Regions from separate parts of the Homo sapiens genome. Here all the other regions are linked to region 1. Evidence: promoter capture Hi-C in 16 types of primary human blood cells and fetal thymus (Javierre and others, 2016). All regions are on one chromosome and are shown on one strand. The core of a region is centred on a gene start or on the middle of the fragment in contact, and the rest is flanking DNA. Distances in the headings are between cores, read along the strand shown. Region 1 holds the start of H4C12 (H4 clustered histone 12). Region 2 holds the start of TRIM38 (tripartite motif containing 38). Region 3 overlaps TRIM38 (tripartite motif containing 38). Region 4 overlaps LINC02980 (long intergenic non-protein coding RNA 2980). Region 5 holds the start of H1-1 (H1.1 linker histone, cluster member). Region 6 holds the start of H2BC3 (H2B clustered histone 3). Region 7 has its middle 4.4 kb from the start of H1-2.

Evidence for each region. The method cuts DNA at HindIII sites, captures the fragments that hold promoters and counts their contacts. A CHiCAGO score of 5 or more calls a contact.
Region 2: a contact is called between the fragment with the promoter of TRIM38 here and the fragment with the promoter of H4C12 in region 1, in 8 of 17 cell types (neutrophils, activated CD4 T cells, monocytes and 5 more). The highest score is 15.9, in neutrophils.
Region 3: a contact is called between a fragment that was not itself captured here and the fragment with the promoter of H4C12 in region 1, in 1 of 17 cell types (monocytes). The highest score is 5.2, in monocytes.
Region 4: a contact is called between a fragment that was not itself captured here and the fragment with the promoter of H4C12 in region 1, in 1 of 17 cell types (neutrophils). The highest score is 5.6, in neutrophils.
Region 5: the fragment with the promoter of H1-1 here is called in contact with the fragment with the promoter of H4C12 in region 1 in 17 of 17 cell types (activated CD4 T cells, total CD4 T cells, M0 macrophages and 14 more); the score reaches 41.2 in activated CD4 T cells.
Region 6: the fragment with the promoter of H2BC3 here is called in contact with the fragment with the promoter of H4C12 in region 1 in 17 of 17 cell types (monocytes, activated CD4 T cells, total B cells and 14 more); the score reaches 57.2 in monocytes.
Region 7: a fragment that was not itself captured here is called in contact with the fragment with the promoter of H4C12 in region 1 in 7 of 17 cell types (M0 macrophages, fetal thymus, neutrophils and 4 more); the score reaches 9.1 in M0 macrophages.

What each region holds. Positions count from the first base shown.
Region 1 is chr6:27,829,906-27,833,355 of GRCh38, forward strand. H4C12 (H4 clustered histone 12) reads right to left here and starts at 1,655. Exons shown (of 1, transcript NM_003541.3): 1 at 1,269-1,655. The coding sequence starts at 1,622. The coding sequence ends at 1,311. RefSeq lists enhancers at 1,106-1,215, 1,139-1,964. The HindIII fragment of the contact is 8,845 bases long and covers 1-3,450 here.
Region 2 is chr6:25,960,602-25,964,051 of GRCh38, forward strand. It overlaps TRIM38 (tripartite motif containing 38), which reads left to right and starts at 2,201. Exons shown (of 8, transcript NM_006355.5): 1 at 2,201-2,254; 2 at 2,448-2,681. The HindIII fragment of the contact is 6,907 bases long and covers 1-3,450 here.
Region 3 is chr6:25,983,367-25,986,816 of GRCh38, forward strand. TRIM38 (tripartite motif containing 38) reads left to right here. Exons shown (of 8, transcript NM_006355.5): 8 at 1-3,450. The coding sequence ends at 321. Among named protein-coding and RNA genes, the nearest start is that of LINC02980, 7.6 kb to the right of the region's middle. The HindIII fragment of the contact is 4,548 bases long and covers 1-3,450 here.
Region 4 is chr6:25,999,601-26,003,050 of GRCh38, forward strand. It overlaps LINC02980 (long intergenic non-protein coding RNA 2980), which reads left to right. Exons shown (of 3, transcript NR_186645.1): 3 at 1,650-2,175. Among named protein-coding and RNA genes, the nearest start is that of LINC02980, 8.7 kb to the left of the region's middle. RefSeq lists an enhancer at 1-553. The HindIII fragment of the contact is 819 bases long and covers 1,244-2,062 here.
Region 5 is chr6:26,015,971-26,019,420 of GRCh38, forward strand. H1-1 (H1.1 linker histone, cluster member) reads right to left here and starts at 1,817. Exons shown (of 1, transcript NM_005325.4): 1 at 1,062-1,817. The coding sequence starts at 1,762. The coding sequence ends at 1,115. It also overlaps the pseudogene H3P26. RefSeq lists an enhancer at 10-1,009. The HindIII fragment of the contact is 5,921 bases long and covers 484-3,450 here.
Region 6 is chr6:26,042,219-26,045,668 of GRCh38, forward strand. It overlaps H2BC3 (H2B clustered histone 3), which reads right to left and starts at 1,495. Exons shown (of 1, transcript NM_021062.3): 1 at 1,009-1,495. The coding sequence starts at 1,439. The coding sequence ends at 1,059. H3C3 (H3 clustered histone 3) reads left to right here and starts at 3,166. Exons shown (of 1, transcript NM_003531.3): 1 at 3,166-3,450. The coding sequence starts at 3,193. It also overlaps the pseudogene H2AC5P. RefSeq lists enhancers at 1,739-1,978, 3,209-3,450. The HindIII fragment of the contact is 16,277 bases long and covers 1-3,450 here.
Region 7 is chr6:26,059,145-26,062,594 of GRCh38, forward strand. No RefSeq gene overlaps it. Among named protein-coding and RNA genes, the nearest start is that of H1-2, 4.4 kb to the left of the region's middle. The HindIII fragment of the contact is 1,769 bases long and covers 1,053-2,821 here.

The DNA.
Region 1 (3,450 bases), core at 405-2,904:
TTTTGCAAATGGAGACATCTTCATTATTCCTATAGTATCATATGTTTTTAAAGTTTGTACTCACACTTTGGGTGATAAATGAAGGACAAGATCCTTCCCTATCCTTGTGAGGATGACTACAGCATGACTGGATGGGCTTGCTATGATTTTTATCTTTCCCTGTGTTCTCACTACCGTTTTATTAATCTCAGTTCTTTTTCACAGGGTAGCACAGAATTTAACTAGCAGAAAGAGATCCAGCCATGTAGACCAGAGATTTGTCTAAGTGACGGCATGTAAGAATCAGGAAGGAAAGTTTTTTGTTTAAATACCAACAGGTTCCTTCCTTAAAGCAATTATTATTTTTCAAATCTAACCCACAAGGTGATAGTATCCTTAAACCAATTAAATCAGAATCTCGGGTTGGATAACCTCAAATATGACTTATTAGCACTTCCCATTAATCACTGGTCCTTCAGGCCTTTAAGTTTACTTACTAGGAATCTCACTTTTAATACCATCTTATCAACTTCAGTTGTAAATAAGAGAACACTCAAAGGCTGAGGAATTCTCAGCGGTAAAGCTCTGCCCACGTTAAGTAACAAAGGATAAGTTAGTCTTTGTTGTGATCACTTTGTTGTACTGATAAGCTACGTATTTCTACTCAAGGATTCAAATTCTCACCTTTCTCAAGAATTGGGCCAAAACCGATAAACTAAACTTATTTACGGTCCACTGATTAAAGGTTGTTGCATAATAAGTTCTTGCTATGTTCAGCAGTTGGATTCACAGCGCCAGAAACCTATAACTGCTTGACTTTCCTCCCCACTACACTGCGAAAATTGCCCCTTAAATGTAACTAACCCTAAAACCTCAACAGTATCGTGGCCAGGCGTGGTGGCTCACTACTGTAATACCAACATTAGGCATAGGCGAGGGGATTGAGGCCAGGATATCGAAACTAGCCTGGGAAACACACGGAGACCCGGTCTTTGGAAAAATAATTAGCCTTGCGTGGTGGTGGGCGCGAGGTTCCGGCTAATCGGGAGGCTACAGTGAGCCATGATGACACTGCACTACAGTCTGCGCGACGGCCCATGTCAGTAAGCTCTGGAGCACCTGAAACAAGTTGTGTTGGGTATTTTATTTACTGGAGAGCGATTAGTGACTGATGCCTACTTACAGCGACTAGAGACGCATGCTCCGATAGCAGCACAAACTCAGCAGGCGCGAACAAATGGTAAAGAGAAACTGGGCAAACAAGCATCACGGCTCCTCAGCTGAGAAAGTGGGGGCCCTAAAAAGGGCCTTTTGTTGATAGAAAGGGACGCTCAACCACCGAAACCGTAGAGGGTGCGGCCCTGGCGCTTGAGCGCGTAGACCACATCCATGGCGGTGACCGTCTTGCGCTTGGCGTGCTCTGTATAGGTCACGGCGTCCCGGATCACGTTCTCCAGGAACACCTTCAGCACCCCGCGAGTCTCCTCGTAGATGAGGCCGGAGATGCGCTTCACGCCGCCGCGGCGAGCAAGGCGCCGGATGGCCGGCTTGGTGATGCCCTGGATATTGTCGCGCAGTACTTTACGGTGGCGCTTAGCGCCGCCTTTGCCAAGACCCTTCCCGCCTTTGCCGCGGCCAGACATGACGAGCAAGAGGAGTCTCACCCAACGCTTTGTGAGGACTCTGGCCTGAGGCAGCGCCTTTATACGACAGTTGGCGGACCGAACTGAGAACCTGAAAGAAGTCGGCGGGAAGTCCCGCCCCGGTGGGGGAGGGGAAATCTAAAGGGCCAAACCGAAATAGGGGGAAAAAAAAAGCGAGCTTCTTGTTTCCGTGTTCTGAATTTTGTAACGTGCATAGTATTTTGTTACCACGTTATGAGGCTTTAAAAAATTGCTTTTGAACGCAGAAGATATACATCAATACTGTGGGAAATACAAGAAAGGACAAGAAATTAAGAAACTACAATGTTATCCCATCACACAGGCTAGTTAATCATGTATTTTGCAGAGCAGTTGCACATATTTTTCCAAGAAAATGTATACAGTGTTGTATATGGAGTTTTGTAACCTCCTTATATTGATTATAATTTAACCAATTTCTATTAAAGAGATAAAAGTGATGTTTTGGTGTCTATGTTTCTTAGGAATTATCAATAGTTATAATCAGTTCCCCAGCAATTTTTTAATCGGCTGTATTTTAAAAATAATGTTTTCCACATTCAACATAAATGTACTTTTTCTCTATACTTGGGACCAATATTGAAATTTATGATTTTATTACACCAAAATTTAAATTTTATTACATTAATATTTAAAATTGTATTAGAGGTCTCATGATTTGGTACTACGGGTCTCCGCATTATTTCCTTTCCAAATTTCCTAATCTGTTTCACCAAGGTTTCTGGACAACTTTAGAGACCTTTTGTGAAGTTTGAATAAAATCTCTTCGAGATTTTGATAATTGCATTAGCTTTAGGACTTAATTGGAATAGAATTAAAATCCTTAAAACAAGCTCTTATAACTAGAAAATTGGTGTTTGTAGGTTTTGTGTGTGGGGTTTTTTTTTTTTTTTGGAAGGAGTCTCGCTCTGTCGTCAGGCCGGAGGGCAGTGGTGCAATCTCGGCTCACTGCAACCTCCACCTCCCGGGTTCAAGCGATTCTCATGCCTCAACCTCCGGATTAGCGCGGACTACAGGCATGCGCCACCACGCCCAGCTAATTTTTTGTATTTTTAGTAAAGAACAAGTTTCACCATGTTGGACAGGATGCTCTTGATCTCTTGACATCGTGATCCGCCCGCCTCAGCCTCCCAAAGTGCTGGGATTACAGGCGTGAGCCGCTTCGCTTGGACGCTTGTAGGTTTTTAAAAAGACACTTTTATATGACCCAACTAAAGATTTGTTATCAACCATTATGGAGCAACTTTGATTCCGTATATTTGATTTTCTTTCTTATTAATAAATACAGGGTTATACTCTGAATTTTTTTTTTTTTTTTTTTTTTTGTGGAGACGGAGTCTCGCCCTTTCGCTCAGGCTGGAGTGCAATGGCCCAATCTTGGCTCACTGCAACCTCCACCTCCCGGGTTCAAGCGATTCTCCCACCTCAGCCTCCCCTGAGTAGCTGGGATTACAGGCACTCACCACCACGCCCGGCTAATTTTTTTGTATCTTTAGTAGAGACGGGGTTTCACCATGTTGGCCAGGCTAGTCTCCAACTCCCGACCTCGTGATCCATATGCCTCGGCCTCCCAATGTGCTGGGATTACAGGCTTGAGCCACTGCGCTCGGCCACTCTGAAATTATTTTAACATCAATGAAAATTATAAAACTCCTATAACTATTCTAATATAATCTCTTAGTATTCAATTCTTTGTTTAGAAAGTAGTTAAGAGTTGAAACTCTGGAAATAGAAAACTTTGGTTTTAGATTAAATGTTTACCTTTCAGACTCGAGCTGACTTGTTACCG
Region 2 (3,450 bases), core at 951-3,450, 1.9 Mb before region 1:
CAGAGCATCAGCTTCTGGACTAAGGATACTGATATGGTTTGGCTGTGTCCCCACCTAACTCTCATCTTAAATTCCCACATATTGTGGGAGGGACCTGGTGGGAGGTAATTGAATCATGGGGGCAGGTCTTTCCCTGAGTAATTTATACTGCTGTTCTCATGATAGTCAATAAGTTTCATGAGACCTGATGGTTTTATAGAAAGGAATTTCCCTGCACAAGCTCTTTGCCTGCTGCCATCCATGTAAGACCTGACTTGCTCCTCCTTGCCTTCTGCTGTGGTTGTGAGGTCTCCCCAGACACGTGGGACTGTAAGAGCATGAAACATTTTTTCCTGGTATAAATTACTCAGTCTCAGGTATGTCTGGATCAGCAGTGTGAAAATGGACTAATACAGATACTTACAGTTATTTCTTGATTATGTACTAAACAAGGAGTGGATTATTCATATGTTTTCTGGGAAAGATGTGGGCAATTCCCAGAACCAAGCGTTCCTCCCCTTTTTAGACTATATAGGGTAGCTTCCTGACATCGCCATGGTATTTATAAACCACTATGGAGCTGGTGGGAATGCCTTCTAACTTGCTAACACATTATAATTCGTGTATAATGAGCAATGAGAATGACTAGAGGCCACTCTTGTTGCCATCTTGATTTTGGTGGGTTTTGGTCAGCTTCTTTACTGCAACCTGTTTTATCAGCAAGATCTTTATGACCTGTGTCTTGTGCCAACTGCCTATTTCATCCTGTGACTTACAATGCCTAACTTCCTGGGAATGCAGCCCAGTAGGTCTCAGCCTTATTTTACCTAGCCCCCATTCAAAATGGAGTCATTCTGGTTTGAACACCTCTGACAATAGGACAGATCTGGAATGAGCCATGCCTGGGTACAGAGTCACATCCACAACAATGAAAGTTGTAGATATCTGCAAGGACTCATCGTGGGACCAAGGATTCAGGGGCTCATTCTTTCTCCTCTCTCTGTGTGCTGGTTGCCTCAGGAGTAGAATGTCCCATGCTATGCATGGGGTCTGCAACCATCATGCCAGGGCATGATGAATCGTAGGTGGCAAAACAACAGAAGGCTCTGTGAGCACCCAGGAGGGTGCAGTGCTGAAGAGTCTTCTGCTTGGTATAGGAAGAAAGGAACGTGTTTCCCAATCTTGCCTTTATTTTGAGTAGTTGGACCAGAGGGATTGCAGCTGGGCCAAACTCCATGTTCCATTGGCTATCAGGGTCAGCAGGCAGGCCAGGGGCCCAGACAGGCCAGTGGCTCCCAGAATTCAAGTTTAATTTCTCCTCCCACCTGTGTCCTGAGCTCCCCTTACTGGTTCCCTTGGACCACTGCATCTACTTAAGCCAGCATTTATTATGTTGTTATCATAAATGCCTCTTACACCTGAGACTTATAAATGTGACAAGCTCTTATTGTGAGATAGTAATCCATCTTTTTTCCCCATGAAATAATAATTCTAACGGGTGGTGATAGTACTTTTCCTTTCATTTTGAAGTGGAGAAGCTGGAGCTAAGTCATTAAGGACTTGACCCTGGACCCCACAGCCTTTTCTCCACAAAGCACAAAGCAGAGTGATGGTCCCAGGGATCCCACACAGCTCTAAGCTGGGGGCACTCACTGCTGGGCCACTAGTGACTCCCATTTTCTATCCTGGCTGACCCTCGCTATTGAAGAAGATCTGAGTCCTGCAGAAGGACAGCAAGGAGAAAAACAAGACACAGAACGGGACAGAGAAGAATAGAAAGCTGACTCAGATGAATTTTGTGATGCCAATGAGTCCTACTGCTGTTACCACCCCTTTTTCCACCACACCCTTCAGAGCAGTTATAGAACCACAAGCAACCCATAAATAGCAAAAGAAGTAACATCAGCTAGGAAGGCTTAAGGACTCCCAAGGGAGTTGGTGGCAAAAGTAGAAAGATCTCAAATCAGAGTCTGTGAACTGAACCTCTGCAGGCTTCCTGTTTTTAGATACTCTGTGTTGGGGTCACATGATAGTTTACAGGGTTATTAATTGGTTCCTTCTTTTTATTGCTGTAAAAGAAGGATATTTTCTTCCTACGTTTCCCCCTCCTTTACCGGAGAGGCGGAGTGCAAATGATATGAACAACGTCACTAGTTTTCTCCTAAATCTTATGAGCCCCGCCTCCCACAGTAGTTTCACTTCTCAGTTTAATCCGGTCTGAGTTAACTTCCTGACCCAGGAAGTGGCAGCAACAGAGGGGACTAGCAGCGAATATGTAAGTGTCTGAGCAGTGAAGGTTACGGAAAAGGTCCAGGCTAAGGTTTTCTCAGTGGATATGTGAGTGTGTACTGATGGCAAGTGGGGTGGGGAATATATTTCGTGACAGCAGGGCCCCTCCAACTCTGAAAATGGTCAGGACTTTCTTTGTTTTACAGCTCTCACCTCTTTCCTGCTCTTTCTTTCACCAGACTTTACACCAAATCTCAGAAGATTCAGAACTTAGATGAGTGGGGCCCAGGACAGGAACCCTGGAGCCTTGGAAGGAGGGGAGCCCCATCTCCCCAGAAGAGCAGTGACCCCAGCAGAGAGGGGCCTGGTGTATCACTGGAGGAAATAGCCTGCCAAGGAATACACGTCTTCAGAAGAAATTCTGTGTGGCTTCAAGAGACTGATCAAATTGTGAGAGGAAAACAGCCTACCCGGTAATTGTAGTTAAATTACTGTTTTTTATTCTAGGCACTCTTCAAACTTCCTCCTGACTCTGCCCCTGTCCTAGAGGAGCTCCCAGGAGTAGGGGTGTGGGGGCGGGCGGGGGGGAGGGATCGGGGGTACAGGGAGAGCCCAGCTAGGTTCTCAGAAGAGGCAGGCTTTTTCGCTCCTGGTCACTCCTCTGTTGCCTATCCCTGGCCTCCCCCATCTTCTTTCTGCCTTCCCTACCTCCTTGGGTCTGCAAACTCTTTATGTTGCAATCACTCTGAACATGTCTCTTGAGATAGGTCCTGTCCTGGAGAAGAGATAGTAAAAGTAAACTCCCCAGTTCTGCAGGAGCTCTGATCCCATAGAAATAACTGCTCCTCAGGAGCAAACCCTCTGCTCTGCAGCCTTCTTTCCAATTCTTATTCCCTCAGTTTAGGGAGAGGGCACAAAAAGGATAAACCGGTTCTTCTGGTTGTTCTGGTTGCCTTGATTGCTTCCATTATCCTCCTGGTTGGGTCTCTAGCAAGACGTTATTAGCCAGGGAAGTCCCACTTAGGCACCCCTCTCTGCAGAAGAGGTATTCACTATTCTCCTTTCTCTTTCTTTTGCCTATTATACCTCTGCTCCTGAAAGCAAAAACAACAACAACAAAAACACAAACAAAAAACAACCGACCTTATTAACCAGTGTTGGTTGTTGTTCTTTGTGGGGGATGGGGGGGGTCGAGGTGGAGTCAAATTTTATTGTCATGATGGTGTAGGAGCCAAGGGAACA
Region 3 (3,450 bases), core at 295-2,794, 1.8 Mb before region 1:
GATTTAGGAGTTTGTATGGAAAATGTGCAGAGGGGCACTGGCATGAAGCAAGAGCCTCAGTCTGGATTCTGGACCCTCAGGCTGTGCAAAAAGAAAGGCTATGTAGCACTTACTTCTCCCCCAACTTCCCTTCATCTGCATGAGCAGCCCCTGCTTGTGGGAATTTTTCTGGACTATGAGGCCGGAGTTGTATCCTTTTATAACGGGAATACTGGCTGCCACATCTTTACTTTCCCGAAGGCTTCCTTCTCTGATACTCTCCGGCCCTATTTCCAGGTTTATCAATATTCTCCTTTGTTTCTGCCTCCCCCAGGTGACTAAGGAAAAGAGCAGAAGCTCCTTGGTTTAACCAGCACAGAGAAAATAATATAAATCCCATAAGGGCAGACGTTTGGTCTGTTTTCTTCGCTGTCATTTCCTTAGTAGTTAGACTAGTGCTGAGATTTTAGTGGATATATAATTGATTTATGTTGAATATATGGACTTAGCAACTAAAAATACCACAGATGGTTAACCTGGACTGGGGCAAAGCAAGATAATAGTGATGATCGTATGTTGCTGTCTCCATCCGTCTTTAATGGGTCAGGGCTTTGATTTCCAAGGGTCTTCAGGTGATGAGTAGGGGTACCCACAAGTCAGAAGGTCTGCGTTCTCCTAGTTTGTTTGCTGCCATTTGAACTCATGTAGGGAATGAAAGAAAGCTGCAATTATCCGCCAACTGCATTTAAAACAAAACAAAACAGAAAAATCAAAATAACATTGACTCTTCCAACCACTGACATGTTGTTTAATAATCTAAGCGGCAGTCCTGGAGGCTACCAGACTTACTGAGTTCTACCTGAGAAACAGCCAAGCAAAGTGTGAGAGAAGGGTTAAGACTGGCTTACAATGAGATGCTTCAAATGAAAAGGGAATTATGAGTAAAATTGAACTTTGATGGGGGATTCAGTTCTGGAAAAGAATTTGGTATTTTCCAGTCTGCTAGGACCAATTACCTTGAAATATTTTAAAATCTCAGTAAATAGTTATTGCTGAAATGGCTGTTGGCAGTTCTTATTATGATTCAGAGAAGAGCAAATAGACCTTAACTTCATTTTGAAAAAGACCAAATTACCATACCCGAGTGAGTAATGACAGGACTACAACTAAAACATAAACAACATTAATGATGACCATAAAAAGTCACAAAATTGCTAAATGTTATAATTTAGAGTTGACATAAAAATTGATGGCCAGGCATGGTGGCTCACGCCTGTAATCCCAGAACTATGTGAGGCTGAGGCAGGTGGATCACTTGAGGTCAGGAGTTCAACACCAGCCTGGCCAACATGGTGAAACCCTGTCTCTACTAAAAATACAAAAATTAGCCGGGCATGGTGGTAGGGGCCTGTAACCCAGCTACTCGTGAGGCCAAGGCAGGAGAATTGCTTGAGCCTGCAGCAGCTGCAGTAAGCCAAGATCATGCTGTGCCTCAAGGAAAAAAAAAATTAATGTTTACTGATATTTGTTGAAGTCCTACAACATCACCTCTGAGAATAGGAGAAATGAAGCAACAGTTGTGTCTAGATGTCAGAGGCATGGCTGGGCCTCCATCTCTGCCTAAGGGAGATATAAAAGAGTTCAAACTATTGCCCATGTTCCCCAGGGTCAGAAGTTCTAATTATGATGATAGAGGCTGGGTTGTAAGTAGTAAGTGAAGGGTAGCAGAATATGCCATCTTTGGCATAAGAAGTATTTTGAGTTGAAGACAATTGAGAAAAAAAATAGATTAAAAACAAACAAACACCTCTGCCCTCTCCCTATTTGCCTAAAAGCAGGATATGAAATTGTGAAGGTGTCTTCTTACTCGGGGAAGAACAAAAGTTAGTCACCAGAGACTTTAGACTCTTATCAGCCTGGACATAGCACCAGAGAAGTCTTTTTTTTTAAAAAAAAAAAAAAAAAAAGGGAAAGAAAAAGTTGCCTTCCCACAATTTACTGCACTAGAAACTCAAAGTCCTTTTCGTCTTCCTTGTCACTTAAAAAATGTATTCTTTTCTTAAAATGCTATATAAGCCCAAGTTCTAAATCCTCTTTTGAGTATTCATCTCAGTACTCCCCTGTGTTTGTACAATGCACATGCTTTGTTTCTGTCTTGTCAATCTGTCTTTTGTTAGTCTACTTGATAGGGCCACAGATGGAGAACCTAAGATGAATAGAAAAAAAAGATTTTTCTCCCCAACAGAAGGATTATCGCCAGTTGCACTTGTTCTATATACCCGTAGTCTCGGTATGCTGACCCAGACTTGGGTAATAGGACCCAGTGGGTAACCGAGGAACCCCACCTTTGTGCAGGATCAGTGAAGATGTAATCTGGATATTCATAAGCTCTTCTCTACCTCTTGGCATCCCACAGTCCTGTGTTAATGTAAGTGTGGTCTTCCCCAGAAAGGGGAGGCCTCCCTAACATTGTTAAAGCCTAGCATATGCTGCTTAGAGGAAATTCTATATCCCTAAGCACTTAGATTGCTGAATAAGAAAGAATGATAATAAAATAAACAATTAAATAAAAGTTTTAAAAAATGAATAAAATAAACCTGTGGAAACTATAAGGAAGGCCAGAAGAAATATAAAATTGGAGATTAATTGGGGTGCAGGAAAGTTATGGAAAGAATATAAGTCCTGCTAGATAAATCATTAGCTATTTTAATAAAGAATACAGAAGAAAATAGGAACAAAAGAATATATACTGGAATAATTTTGAGAGTAATTTGAAGAATTAGATGCAAATAAATTTGAAAACCTTTAAAAAGAAACCAATGGCCTAACTGACCCAAGAAGGGAAAGAAAATCTAAACAGACTGATAAATACAAAATGAAATTCAGACACTTACAGAGCAGCCAGGCATGGTGGCTCACACCTGTAATCCTGTCACTTTGGGAGGCTGAGATGGGAGGATCACTTGAGGCTAGGAGTTTGAGACTAGCCTGGGCAAGGCTCCCATCTCTAAAAGAAAAGAAATTAGCTGGGCATGGTGGCATGTGCCTTAGTTTCAGCTACTCAGGAGGCTGAGACGAGGATTGCTTGAGCCTAGGAGGGCAAGGCTGCAGTGAGCCATGGTCATGCCACTGAATTCCAGCCTAAGTGACAGAGCAAGACCTTGTCTCAAAAAAAAAAAAAAAAAAAGTTACAGAGCTCCAACTAAATAATGTGGGGAACAAAAGAAAAAAGAAGATGATTTTATGGCTGATTTTTTTTTTAAGGAAAAGCAATTCATGTACCCTTGAAGATTAGATTAAGTTCTATAAAATAGCCCAAAATGACAGTGGCTGAAACAAGTTTATTTCTCTCCCATTTAAAGCAAGTCTAGATGTGGAAGTCTGGGAAGCCCAGAAAATCCAGGTCTTGTTTGTGTATGGAAACTCCAGAAAATCACAGATTCCTTCCAGCCACCCCTCAATTACCCCTGG
Region 4 (3,450 bases), core at 403-2,902, 1.8 Mb before region 1:
GCCTCGTGGGAAGGGAAAGACCTGACCGTCCCCCAGCCCGACACCCGTAAAGGGTCTGTGCTGAGGAGGATTAGTAAAAGAGGAAGGAACGCCTCTTTGCAGTTGAGACAAGAGGAAGGCATCTGTCTCCTGCTCGTCCCTGGGCAATGGAATGTCTCAGTGTAAAACCCGATTGTATATTCCATCTACTGAGATAGGGGAAAACTGCCTTAGGGCTGGAGGTGGGACATGCTGGCAGCAATACTGCTCTTCAAGTCATTGAGATGTTTATGTGTATGCATATCTAAAGCACAGCACTTAATTCTTTACCTTGTTTATGATGCAGAGACCTTTGTTCACGTGTTTACCTGCTGACCTTCTCTCCACTATTATCCTTTGACCCTGCCACATCCCCCTCTCCGAGAAACACCCAATAATGATCAATAAATACTAAGGGAACTCAGAGGCCGGTGGGATCCTCCGTATGCTGAACACCGGTCCCCTGGACCCCTTTTTTTCTTTCTCTATACTTTGTCTCTGTGTCTCTTTCTTTTCCAAGTCTCTCATTCCACCTAACGAGAAACAACCACAGGTGTGGAGGGGCAGCCCAACCCTTCAACCTACCTATCTTATCTCTTCCATTATCTATCCACATATGTCCTCTGTATTTTTTTGAGTAACATTTATAAGCATAAGTCCTTAGGTAGCTATGCCACTTACATAATGAACTAGAAAAGGTAACCAAACAGAATAGGGTTGTACTCAGATATACCTTCTACAAGTTTGTGTTACACATATTTACACATATTTAAAAATATATACATATTATTATTGTGCTGTGTGGTTATTAGGCAAACTCAATAAGCAGTTCTTATAAAGTATACTCAATGTAACTTTTATAAACTTACCATATTTTATAGTTATTCTGTTTTTATTAGCTGCTATAAACTACCTGGGTGTCTTGCATGAGTCATTTTATTGTAATGTTTTTGTATCTGTTGAATGAGGAGTTAGAAGGCATCATCTTTAAGGAGCTTTACAGGTACATGTCCAGGGCTCAATAATTTTATTATTATTTCCTGGACAGATAAAACCTAAGCAGGTGAAGGGGAAAGAATAAAAGTGCAGGGTGGAAGTTGCTTGAATGCTAACTGGGTCAACGATCTCCCAGAAAACCCCTGTAAAAGAAACCTAAGAACCTACATCACCAGGAGACCATTGGGACCAGTTCCTCTGGAATCCCTGAGGCCAGATAATCAGCTGAAGCTTTACATTCTGTCCCTTTCTGGTCATGACTTTCTCCACAGTCTGCTTGGTGCCTCCTCCTCTGTGACTCTAAATTCTTAGGATCAACCCCTCTTGCATATGCACATCCGCAGTGCCTGTGGGATACGGTGTGGTGTGGGGAGGAAACTCTCTTCTGCCTTAATATTTTCCTGTGTGCCCCAGGCCTTGACGGAATCCTGTCTCTCCATAATGTTGCTTTTCGAGGAGACTGATTGATTGAGATGGCGTCTCACTTTGTCGCCCAGGCTGGAATGCAGTGGCGTGATCTCGGCTCACCAACCTCCACCTCCAAGGCTCGAGTGATTCTCCCACTTAAGTCTCTTGAGTAGCTGGGACTACAGGTGCATGCCACCACGCCTGACAAATTTTTTTATTTTTTGTAGAGATGAGGTTTCGCCATGTTGACCAGGCTGGTCTCAAACTCCTGGACTCAAGTGATCTGCCCACCTCGGCCTCCCAAAGTACTGGGATTACAGGCATGAGCCAATGTGCCCGTCCTGAGGAGTTTTCTTCTGGAATTCCTGCTGGGTTTTTGTAGTCAGTCCTCTCCCCATTTCCCACATTGGCTCTTGCAGACCTTCCTTTTCCCCATTTCTATTTGCTACCATGTCAGACATGACTTTTGCCATAGGATCTCTATTCTACTATAGAGGAAACCAAAGCCATCAGTAGAAATTTCACTAACATGGAATCAGATTTATAGAAGAAAGGGGGAGGAAAGTTTTGCCTTAACACCTGGAAGGGTTTCGTTTCTTTTAGTAGCTGGGAGACAGAAACATAAGAAAGTAGCTTAGTAAGCTTTCTGCTGTTCAACTGATGATGTGTGAGCTGTCAGTAGTTCAAACTAGTCATTATCTTTATGAATTAATTATGTAATAACTTAAACAATGTCATAAACCTTCAAATCAGTTTAAGTCTAAATGTGTCATATTTAATAACAAGAGCAAGAAACATACGTTATGATGAAGAGCTCTTATATTTTCTTTGGATAAAAGTCAGTAGGCGGGGCGCGGTGGCTCATGCCTGTGATCCTAGCACTTTGGGAGGCTGAGGTGGGCAGATCATGAGGTCAGGAGATCGAGACCATCCCGGCTAACACGGTGAAACCCTGTCTCTACTAAAAATACAAAAAATTAGCTGGGCGTGGTGGCGGGCGCCTGTGGTCCCAGCTACTCGGGAGGTTGAGGCAGGAGAATGGCGTGAATCCGGGAGGCGGAGGTTGCAGTGAGCCGAGATTGTGCCACTGCATTCCAGCCTGGGCGACAGAGCAAGACTCCGTCTCAGAAAAAGAAAAAAAAAAAAAGTCAGTAAAATTTAAGAGAAAAATGCATTTGCTTTGGGACTTTTAATATTTAGTCTACAAATCTAGCCACCATAGAAATCTGCTGATTAAATACGGGTTCTGTTAAAATGGAAACATGCATTTTGGGGGAAAAAAGAGGGAGTGTTTTAGTGATTTTGTTTTTTACACTTGTTTATAATAAAATTTTAAGCAATCTTGAGGGGAACATTTTATTTCTACTTGTAACTGCATAAAGTTATGAGATAAAGTTACAAGCTATATCACATACAGTTTGTAGCTTTATAAATTATGAAATTCTAACAGAATAAATATGCTAATATGATGAAAATGTCATAAATTACATTAGAATATATTTTAATAAACCAATTCAGAAGGAGCCAATACCCAATTTCAAAATCATATTAATTGTAAAATTAATTAGGGCAGCCAAAATATTCTGGAATTCTTTCTAATAAAACAAATGAGTGTAAATACAGTCGTACTGACAAATCTGAAGAATTATGCAGCATAAAAAGTGATTATCCCAGCACTTTGGGAGGCCAAGGTGGGCAGATCATGAGGTCAGGAGTTGGAGACCAGCCTGACCAACATGGTGAAACCCCGTCTTTACTAAAAATACAAAAATTAGCCGGGCTTGGTGGTGCACACCTGTAATCCCAGCTGCTCAGGAGGCTAAGGCAGGAGAACTGCTTGAATCCAGGAGGTGGAAGTTGCAGTAAGCCAAGATCACGCCACTGCACTCCAGCCTGGGCGACAGAGTGTGACTCTGACTCAAAAAAAAAATAAATAAATAAAAATAAAAGTTTTAAAAAAGTGATTATTATGAACACAGAGTAATCTAGTAAAAATGGTTAAGTGAAAACAGCAAAATACAAAATTGA
Region 5 (3,450 bases), core at 567-3,066, 1.8 Mb before region 1:
TGAAAAAAGACCGTTTGAAAAATACAACTGATTATTAACTCATATGCACACACGCAAAAATAAACTTTTAGAATTGAACTGCACTAAGTAAAAGTGAGTAAACTTGGCTCATCATATACTCTTGTCAGATGTAAACAAAAAAGTCCAATTATTAAAATCTGACCCCCAGAATTAAAATTGCAAAAGCTTAAAGGGGCAGTTCTGAGAAAAGGATCTTCAGTTTTGAATGTGTGGGCTCCACCAGGGTTGAAAATCCTGCACGACTGATGAAACACGATCCAGTTAAGCACAGTAATTTTCAAATATCCAATCAGGGCGCTTCCGTTTCTAAAAACAGAGAAACCGAGCAAGGGATTTTGGGTTGCAGCTCTAAAACTCCAACAAACTAAGCTCCTTTGTCCTGACAAGGGCCTAAACCAAGTCGACAGCCCGTAAGTGCACCCATGGTAAGGCGCTGCACAAAGAAAGCATTTTGCGTTTCAAAGCTTTGTCATGATGGCGCTGCAGAAAGCAAGCGAGCTAGGCCTACCTGGCGGGGCTTTCAGAGGACGCCAACGTGGGCGCCAGCCACGCCAGCAGGGTCACCGTCCTTCCCAAGGACAGACAGCTCGCTAGCCACTCCTGTGGAGAGGGCGTGGTTAAGCCATATATTTTGCCAACTATCCCAGAAGCATTTCTTAGGACCACCCAATTTCGGAAAATGCTACTTTAGCAATATTGACCCCAAAACGCAATATCCCCACTTTAACCTTGTATAATAAAAAGCCTCAAGCCTGGGACTGGGCTTCAACCTTGGTTCAATACGGTTATGACTAATTAGCTTGGAGTCGTGAGACGCGGGACTTCCGGCTACCGAAACCCAGGTGACTTTAAAACTCGATTTTAACTCGGTGCATTTGAATTCACCTTGCTATCTTTGATAGATTGAGTAGTAAATTCTTACTAGATGAGGCTATGTTAAAGTTCTATCGACTCTCCAAGTGATTCTAATATAATTGAGGGCGTGTTGCATTTGCTTGGGGGATTTCATCTGTGTACTACAGCTCTTTTCCTGAAATGCGTAGGTGGCTCTTAAAAGAGCCGTTGGGTTACTAGAAGAAACTTCTAACTGAATTTACTTTTTCTTGGGTGCCGCTTTCTTGGGTTTGGCAGTCTTTGGCTTCGTCACCCTAGCCTTGGCCGCCTTGGGTTTTACAGCCTTAGCTTTAGCAGGGCTTTTAGCTACTTTCTTGGGCTTTACAGTTTTGGGTTTTTTTGGATTCTTGGAGGATTTCCTTGTTGCCGCAGGCTTTTTAGCCTTTTTCGGAGTCTTGACGCTCTTTTTGCTAGCCCCCGTGGCCTTTTTGAGCTTTTTAGATGCACCCGTTGCCTTAGTTTTTGTAGCCACCTTTGAGGCGCCGGGCTTGGTTTCCACGGAGGACGCCTTCTTGTTGAGCTTGAAGGAACCCGAGGCTCCGGTACCCTTTGTCTGCACCAACGTTCCCTTGCTTACCAGGCTCTTAATGCCCAGCTTAATGCGGCTGTTGTTCTTCTCCACGTCGTAGCCTGCGGCCGCCAGCGCCTTTTTAAGAGCTGCCAACGACACACCACCACGCTCCTTAGAGGAGGAAGCAGCCTGCACGATCAGCTCTGACACGGAAGGGCCAGCGGGTTTTTTCTTGGAGGCTGCTGCAGCCTTAGCAGGTTTCTTTGCCTTCTTGCCAGCTAAAGGTTTCTCAGGAGCAGCAGAAGCGGCGGGGGCGGGAGGCACTGTTTCAGACATGGTGACTAACACAGCACACCAAATAAAGTGGTATAAACCTGACGAAGCAGGATGCGAAAAAAAGGCCCCAACGCAGCCTATTTATAGGGTGGGACTGCGCCGTGATTGGTGCCCGTCAGTGCCCGCCCCTCGCGCCCTAGCGCCCCCTGCGCGCTGCCGAGGGTTTCGCCCAGTCTCAGAAGGCAGCTGGGGGCCTCTAGGGCCTATGGTCCTGCTCCCCTCAACGCAAGCAAACACACAGAAAAAGCCGCTCTGGTTGCCTCATTGTGAAGGAAATTGTAGGCAGACTGCCGCCCAGTAACATCAGAGGGTACCGCTTCTCTCTCAAAAAGCAGCTCTTTTTTAGGGAGTAGGTTGAGAGGGGGCGGTTTACAAATGCAGTGCCACAAGCATCCGAGGAGTTTTATTAGAAATTTTTAGAGGTCCGTTGCCAGAGATGTTAGTTTTTAATTTGCAAGAAATGTAAAATACAGTGTTTTGAATAGTTGCGGAGGGAGAGAAAAGTGCGAGTTTTAGGCCGTGTTAGGGCCAGTTGTCATCAACTCTATTACATTTTCTGGCAATGTTTTAGAGCGATGTGTCTCGCGAATACCTTTCACGTCAAACAAGAATGAATCGTAGACAACACCAGAATTCACAAACGCTGCAATTAATACTCAAACTGCAAGTGTGGAAACGTTTCTGCACTTGCAACTTATTTCCACAGTCCAATGTGGGATGCACTTCAGGAATTTCCAATGCCCTTTTCATCCATACAACATGCCCCAAATTGGTATTAAGGTTTACAACCTGTGTTCCATGTCAGCACACGCAATCAGCGCACCATGACATGGTCAACTCATTCTTTTATTCAACAAATATTTATGGGCCTCACAAGCCTGCGAAAGGCGTTAAATGCTGGGTCCACGAAACCGGTTCCCTGACAGGCATTCTGCTGGGGAGTTAAGTCCACTTAGTGTGAAAGCAAACACGGGTGATAAATGCAAGCACACCCTGGGGATAAGATTTTATGGTAACAACCCTTTAACTTGTTTGTGGCTGTTAAGTGCATTTCAAAGTATCAATAAGCTAAAACGATCTCACATTGCCAATCAGAGACTCAGCTAATGGGAGAATAAAAAACTATTAAATCGACATCCACTTCTACAATCCTATTCTGGATAACCCCCTAGCACAGCACAGCAGAGAGTGAGGTAATGCGGTCTTATTTCCGCTCCTGCTGTGGTAGTTTTCAAATAAGTCCGAACCATGCTAAGTAACCTGAGCTTTTCCCCTTTTTGTTCAAACAACGTGCCAACCAAATAATGGAGTGGTCCCAGATAAGTATTGTACCCATCTTCTGCACCAGTGCTTCCTACGTCCCATTTTATTGAGAAGGCATGCATTCAAATATTTCACGTAATTTCTAAAAATTTGGAAAATAACGGTTGGAAACTCTACATCTTGGTTTGACGGCTAGTCAGTTATGAAACACAGGTATACAAAATTGGAAGATTTTTGTAAGTAAACCCTTTGTGAAAGATATAAACCTTTCTTAGTGTAATAAGCGAGGTATCTGAAAAAACGCAACTTTTGAAAAGGAAATACTCCTAATTATCTGATTCAGGAGTTTCCACTTTAAATAATGGGTTCTGCCTCCCTTTTTTCTATTGGGTTAAACTGGTTTCAAATAAAATGGGAACGCTCCA
Region 6 (3,450 bases), core at 245-2,744, 1.8 Mb before region 1:
TAGATGTTTACGGTTAAGGGAACAAATAAATAATGTTTACTAAACAGACTCAGACTTAGGAGTGTCCAGATATCCCTATATCTGGAGAACAAAGGCATTCTTAATTTTGTTTAAAGATAATAATGTTGATTCTTGCAAAATATAGTAACTAAGAAAATTAATCCTTTATCACAAACTTGTAGCAGAGCACATCTCCCCATATATACAAGTATTGTACCTAGGGTGGATGCCTTCCTCCTCTTACTTTCGGGAATGTCCTGCTCCGTCTATGGAGTAGTTGTCGTTTCACCACTTTACTTTCTTAGTAAACTTGCATTTACTTTGCACTGCGGACTCACCCTGAACTCTTTCTTGCGCGGGATCCAAGAACCCTCTCTTGGGGTCTGGATGGGGACCTCTTTCCTGTAACATATTTCTGGCCACCACAGAAGGGACTATAGTACAGAAACCCTGACCCAACAGCTACCTTTGGGTAAGTGTTGGAGTTCTGTAACAAAGGAAGAAGGCAGGCAGGCAAAAAATTTATGAAAGAACATACGACAAAATAATTTCTGCTTCAAAACTTCATATTTTTTTAATTTTTTTTTTTTTTTTTTTTTGAGACGGAGTCTCGCTCTGTCACCCAGGCTGGAGTGCCATGGCGCGATCTCGGCTCACTGCAAGCTCCGCCTCCCGCGTTCACGCCATTCTCCTGCCTCAGCCTCCCGAGTAGCTGGGACTACAGGCGCCCACCATCACGCCCAGCTAATTATTTTGTATTTTTAGTAGAGACGGGGTTTCATCGTGTTAAGCAGGATGGTCTCCATCTCCTGACCTCGTGATCCGCCCGCCTCGGCCTCCCAAATTGCCGGGATTAAAGGCAAGAGGCACCGCGCACGGCCCCGTCCAAGTTAACCTTGGCTCTAAAACTTGTCTTCGCTAACATTCCAGTTGATCCTCTAGAACTGAAACAGAATAGCAGCAGCACCACCTTAAGAAATTGTGGTTATAGCTCTCCTTGTGACAAAGTAGGTGGCTCTGAAAAGAGCCTTTGGGTTTGGAAGTGCTTACATAAGCACTTATTTAGAGCTAGTGTACTTGGTAACTGCCTTAGTGCCCTCGGACACAGCATGCTTAGCCAGCTCCCCAGGCAGCAGCAGGCGCACAGCCGTCTGAATCTCCCTGGAGGTGATGGTCGAGCGCTTATTGTAGTGAGCCAGGCGAGAAGCCTCGCCCGCGATGCGCTCGAAGATGTCGTTGACGAAGGAATTCATGATCCCCATGGCCTTGGATGAGATGCCGGTGTCGGGGTGGACCTGCTTCAGAACCTTGTACACATAGATAGAATAGCTCTCCTTGCGGCTGCGCTTACGCTTCTTACCATCCTTCTTCTGCGCCTTAGTGATAGCCTTCTTAGAACCCTTTTTAGGGGCTGGAGCAGACTTAGAGGGTTCAGGCATTGCTATTCCTAAACAGAATAGAAAAGCTACTAACACTCTCCACTACAGAGTAGTACAGAGAACAGTTCAGAGCCCATGTATTTATAGTCCTGAGATTCAAATGACGGTTTAAGATTCCTCACTTCTGATTGGACAAAAGAAACACGGTTTCACTGAGGGGTGGGGTTTATGCAAATATGGAATTTATGTTATCTTTTTCTATTGGATAAAGCACCAAACATAATTGACCAATAGGATAGCTTCCTATTGCAGCCTTGCAGTTTGTATAAAAGGATTTGTTCAGGCGCCATTCCAGCTTGCTTGTCTTTCACAGTTTTCCGCTGCTTTCATAGGTCGCTATTTGCGGACGTGGAAAATGGAGCTAAAGCAAAAACTTGTTCGTCGCTACCGGGCTTGCAGTTCCCAATAGGGCAGAGTCCGTCATCTTTTTCGAAAGGGCAATTATTTTGAGCCGGTCGGAGCCGGTGCGCCAGTGTACTTACAATACCTGGCCGCCGAGATCTTAGAACTGGTGGGCAGCGCCATACGTGACAAGACCCGCAGCATCATCCCCCGCCACCTGCAGCTGGCCATCCGAAACGACGAGGAGGTCAACAAGCAGCTGGGCAACGTCACTATTGCTCAGGGAGGCGTCCTGTCCAATATTCAGGCCGTCCTGTTGCCAAAATAACAGAGCCACGATAAGGCCAAGGTCAAGTAAACACTCAAATCAGAAAACGTAGCTTACACTTGAAACGGCATTTTTCAGAGCCGTCCATAGTTACACAAGAAAGGATGATAACTTGCTTCTGTTAGGGTATTTTTTGCTTTTCGTTTGGATTGGTTTGTTTTGAGACAGTCTAGTTCTGTCACCCAGGCTGGAGTGCAGCGGCGCGATATCGGCTTACTGCAACCTCCACCCCGCCGCTTCACGCGGTTCTCATGCCTCAGCCTCCTGTGTACTTGGGATTACAGGCGTCTGCTACCGCGCCCAGCTAGTTTTTGTATTTTTATGCGAGACGGGGTTTCACCATTTTAGCCAGGGTTGTCTTGAACTCCTGGCCTCTAGTGATCGTCCCATCTCGCCCTCCCAAAATGCTGGGATTACAGGCGTGAGCCACCGCCCCCCTAGCCTAATGGTGTTAAAAAGTTAAGTTTCGAGAAAATAACACCTTCCTTTAGAAAGTACATTTTAGAGTATACAAAGTGAAACTTAAGGCCAACCAAAATAAGACATTTTGAGAACAGGCAGGGTGGGAATGTGACTTGGACTTAGAAAACAAAGGGCAAGGAAACTTGCTGTTCGCCAGTAACAAAATAGCATGGAATCTCATTCTCTGAATATAAGCGTTATTTCCCGACATGAGTCTGAACGTTTCTGGTGGTTTAGTGAGTGTTCACCAGCATTGATAACTTGCGAGACTGTCAGGAATGCAGAATTTCAAGTCCCACTCAAACTTACTGAATCGGAATTTACATTTTAAAAATCCTTAGATACCTTGTTATACACTCTGTTCTTTGGGACTGGATGAACTAGAATTTTAGACAATTTGTCGCTGCAGATAACTGAAACGAAAAGGACAGGATGGGCGGTGGGGCAACTCATCCAATAAGATTGTCTAGTAATGAACCAATCAGTCTGGTCACTCTTCAGCCAATGATTTTATCGCGCGGGACTTTTGAAATATTACAGGACCAATCAGAATGTTTCTCACTATATTTAAAGGCCACTTGCTCTCAGTTCACTACACTTTTGTGTGTGCTCTCATTGCAAATGGCTCGTACGAAGCAAACAGCTCGCAAGTCTACCGGCGGCAAAGCTCCGCGCAAGCAGCTTGCTACTAAAGCAGCCCGTAAGAGCGCTCCGGCCACCGGTGGCGTGAAGAAACCTCATCGCTACCGCCCGGGCACCGTGGCCTTGCGCGAAATCCGTCGCTACCAGAAGTCCACCGAGCTGCTGATCCGGAAGCTGCCGTTCCAGCGCCTGGTGCGAGAAATCGCCCAGGACTTCAAAACCGACCTGCGTTTCCAG
Region 7 (3,450 bases), core at 687-3,186, 1.8 Mb before region 1:
ATATGCAAATCTCAAGTCCAGACCTCAAGCCATTAGGACATCCAGCCACCCAGAATCTTGTCCCCAACCTCCTGGCAACATGGTGGAGGCCAGAAGACAGAGAAACATGTAACCAACCCTTTTCTAGATCCTTTATAAAGTGTGTTGAAAAAGTTATGCAAAACTTAAAAGCAACGCAAAAATATTTCTCCATATCCTTCCAAGCTATATTAGAGAATTATCTAAAAAGCCTACTTATGGGGTACCTGATGATGTAAGGCAATACTAGACAGTAAAATAGAATGTGAATCACATAAATACTTTCCAGATTTCTAGTGGTCACATTGAAAGAATGAAAAGAAACAAGTAAAATTAATTTTAAGATATTTTATTTAACTTAATATATCTAAACTATTATCACTTCAACATATAATAAATAAGCTAAAAAAAAAGACAGTTGACATTCTTTTTTAAATGATAAATCTTCAGAACCTGGTGTGTATTTTACACTTTTAGAACATTTTAAATCAGTCTAGCTATAGTCCAAATGGTCAATGATCACGTGTAGCTAGTGGTACCTTATTGGACAACACTGTCCTACGTGAAAGTAACTCTGACTTAATGTTTACATTTTATTGGGTCCAGACTATCTAAAAGTAAACATTCACTTGTAGAAGTTTAATAAATTAATAAGGATTTTGTCATAGAGATGGAAATGAATTCTTAATATAGAAAAAATGACCCTAAAAGTTATTATTGTATTGCCTAATAAGTCATTAAACAACTTTATATCTGATTTTCCCTTCCTCTTCCAGTATACATCCTTTCCCTGACCAAATACATATTTTATTCTCCCGTATCTTCCTTTGACCTAATTGTGATTCTGCTTCCTCCTTCATTAATGAATTAAATCATTCATTGACACATACACAAGCTCACTATATATAGTACATATATGTCAGTCATGTTTTTAACTTCCTGAATGTTGTACTTTGACACTTGGTTGTTCAATTTCGCCTAAGAGCTCTGAATCAGAACCTTTAGAAGCCATTCTGAAAAACTGGAAGATACAAAGCTTTTGACTATCAACTCCATAGCAACCTGATATCTGGTTGGTGTTCCATGGAAACTGTATTTCTCAAATTTTGAAATAAGATTGAACAAGCCTGTGAGCAACAACAAAAAAAAAGTCTATTAGAATGACCTCTGGCCGGGCGGGGTGGCTCACGCCTGTAATCCCAGCACTTTAGGAGGCTGAGGTGGGCAGATCATGAGGTCAGGAGTTTAAGACCAGCCTGACCAACATGGTGAAATTCCGTCTCTTCTAAAAATACAAAAATTAGCTCGGCATGGTGGCGTGCATCTGTAATCCCAGCTACTTGGAAGGCTGAGGCAGGAGAATCACTTGAACCCAGGAGGCGGACGTTGCAGTGAGCTGAGATTGCGCCACTGCACTCCAGCCTGGGTGACAGAGCGAGACTCTATTTCAAAAAAAAAAGAATGACCTCCAAGGGAAAGTTCAGATTAAGGATGTGGTCGTCCCACCCAAAACTGATGTCCTCAAGAAAGCCACAAACAAATTGAGGACACAGTTAAAATATTGTAATGCAATATATTGTGTATTCTTTTATTTACACACACATCATAAATATTATAGGTTGACTAGTTTTGTTTCATGCCACACTCTTCAGGGTCTGGAAACCCTGGTAGAAAAGTTAAAAATGCAGAGCAAAATGTCAAGTCCAAACAGCAGTAATGGGGCTAGAGAGAGACTCAAACAGCCAAGATATATTCAAAGGATAGTGAGAGGAGTTGTTAGGACAGGTGTAAGGAATGAGGGTGACAGCTGGTTTTTCTTTCACTTTTTCCTTCTACTATGCCAATTAGAGTTCTTTGTTTTTGATAGAGACAGGGGTCTCACTATGTTGCTCAGGCTGGTCTCAAACTCTTGGCACCAAGTGATCCTCCTGCCTCAGCCTCCCAAAGTTTTGAGATTATAGGTGTGAACCACCAAGCCCAGCCTTAGAGTAGGGTTCTGTCATCTTTTGGATGTAGCTAACCTAATATTACTAAATCCTGTATAGGCCAGAACTTTGAATGATTTAAAGCTGTTTTTTCCTGACTCACCAATTAATGAAGCTAATAATAACAGCCACCCCACTGGCAGTGCCTGCCTCAAAGAGTAAGTGTTAGTGTTGCTATCTGCTTGAGACCAACAATACAGGGACTCCAGGATATTTTCAGCCTAAATAAGATTGTAGGGGCTCTTGTCTGTTGCCTGGCTTCAGCCCCATAAACTTTTTTTTAACATATAACCCAGAGCCACAGTTTTGCTCATATTTCAATCTTTGAAGGCAAATGGCCAACAATTAGATTAAACCTGAGGCTAAATATTTCCTCACCTCAAGGGCTGAGACGAAAGTTACTGCATCTGTATTCCCTAACACGCCCTCAAAATGGGTTGCAGAAAACAACAGAAAATATACTAAAGCACACAGTAGGAGCATAATAAATAGTGATTAGCTGGGTGCAGTGGCATGCGCCTGTAGTTCCCGCTACTCTACTCATGAGGCTGAGGCAGGAGGATCACTTTTGCCAAGCAGTTTGAAGTTGCAGAGAGCTATGATCACAACACTTCACTCTAACCTGGGCAACAGAGCAAGACTCTGTCCAGAAAAATAAATACATAAATATAAAATTTAAAAATATAAATAAATACATAGAGAGTATTACAAAAGGAACAATATATTGCAAAATATATTTACCTAACATTTTGAAATTGCCATTATAATTGTATAAGTGACATAGGAAACTGGGTCATTAACAGCTATCTTATTCTTCAAGCTTCTTTCAAATGATGTCAAAGCATTTCAGAAAGTCAAACCTACCCTCAAAGGATAAGAATTTGTCAATTGTGAGGATATGCACATTTTTACACCTTCTCAATCTGTGTCTATATGAAGGCAGTTATAAAGCACAAGATGCAAACGTATATTAGGCAATAGTCTTCATCAGAATAAGTACATAACCTGACACAATGACTATATTGGAAGAAACATGGAAATGCAAATTTCAATAGATTGGTTGACATTATTTTTTAATGTCTAGTTTTTTACTGTGCTGTGTTTTTACACACTTAATGAGCACTTGTTAAGCACAGGACACCAGGAGAAATAATAAAAACTAAGATCAGCCTAGCAGTGTGTCCTCTCAAGAACTTATACCTGGTGGGACAGATACAGACAAATATAACCATCATACAGTGTGAGAAATCGATAGAAAAGACACAGCCACTGAGAGCACAAAAGAATAAAAACATAAAATGTTAATGTGCTGGCTAAACGTTTGCCTTCAAGTATTTACCAGTCTAGCTGGGAAAATAAGACAGAAGACAACAGCCTAAAATAGTGGTTCTTAAACATTTAGATATCAGGACTTCTTTACACTCCTAAAAACTATCAGGCCTCCAAA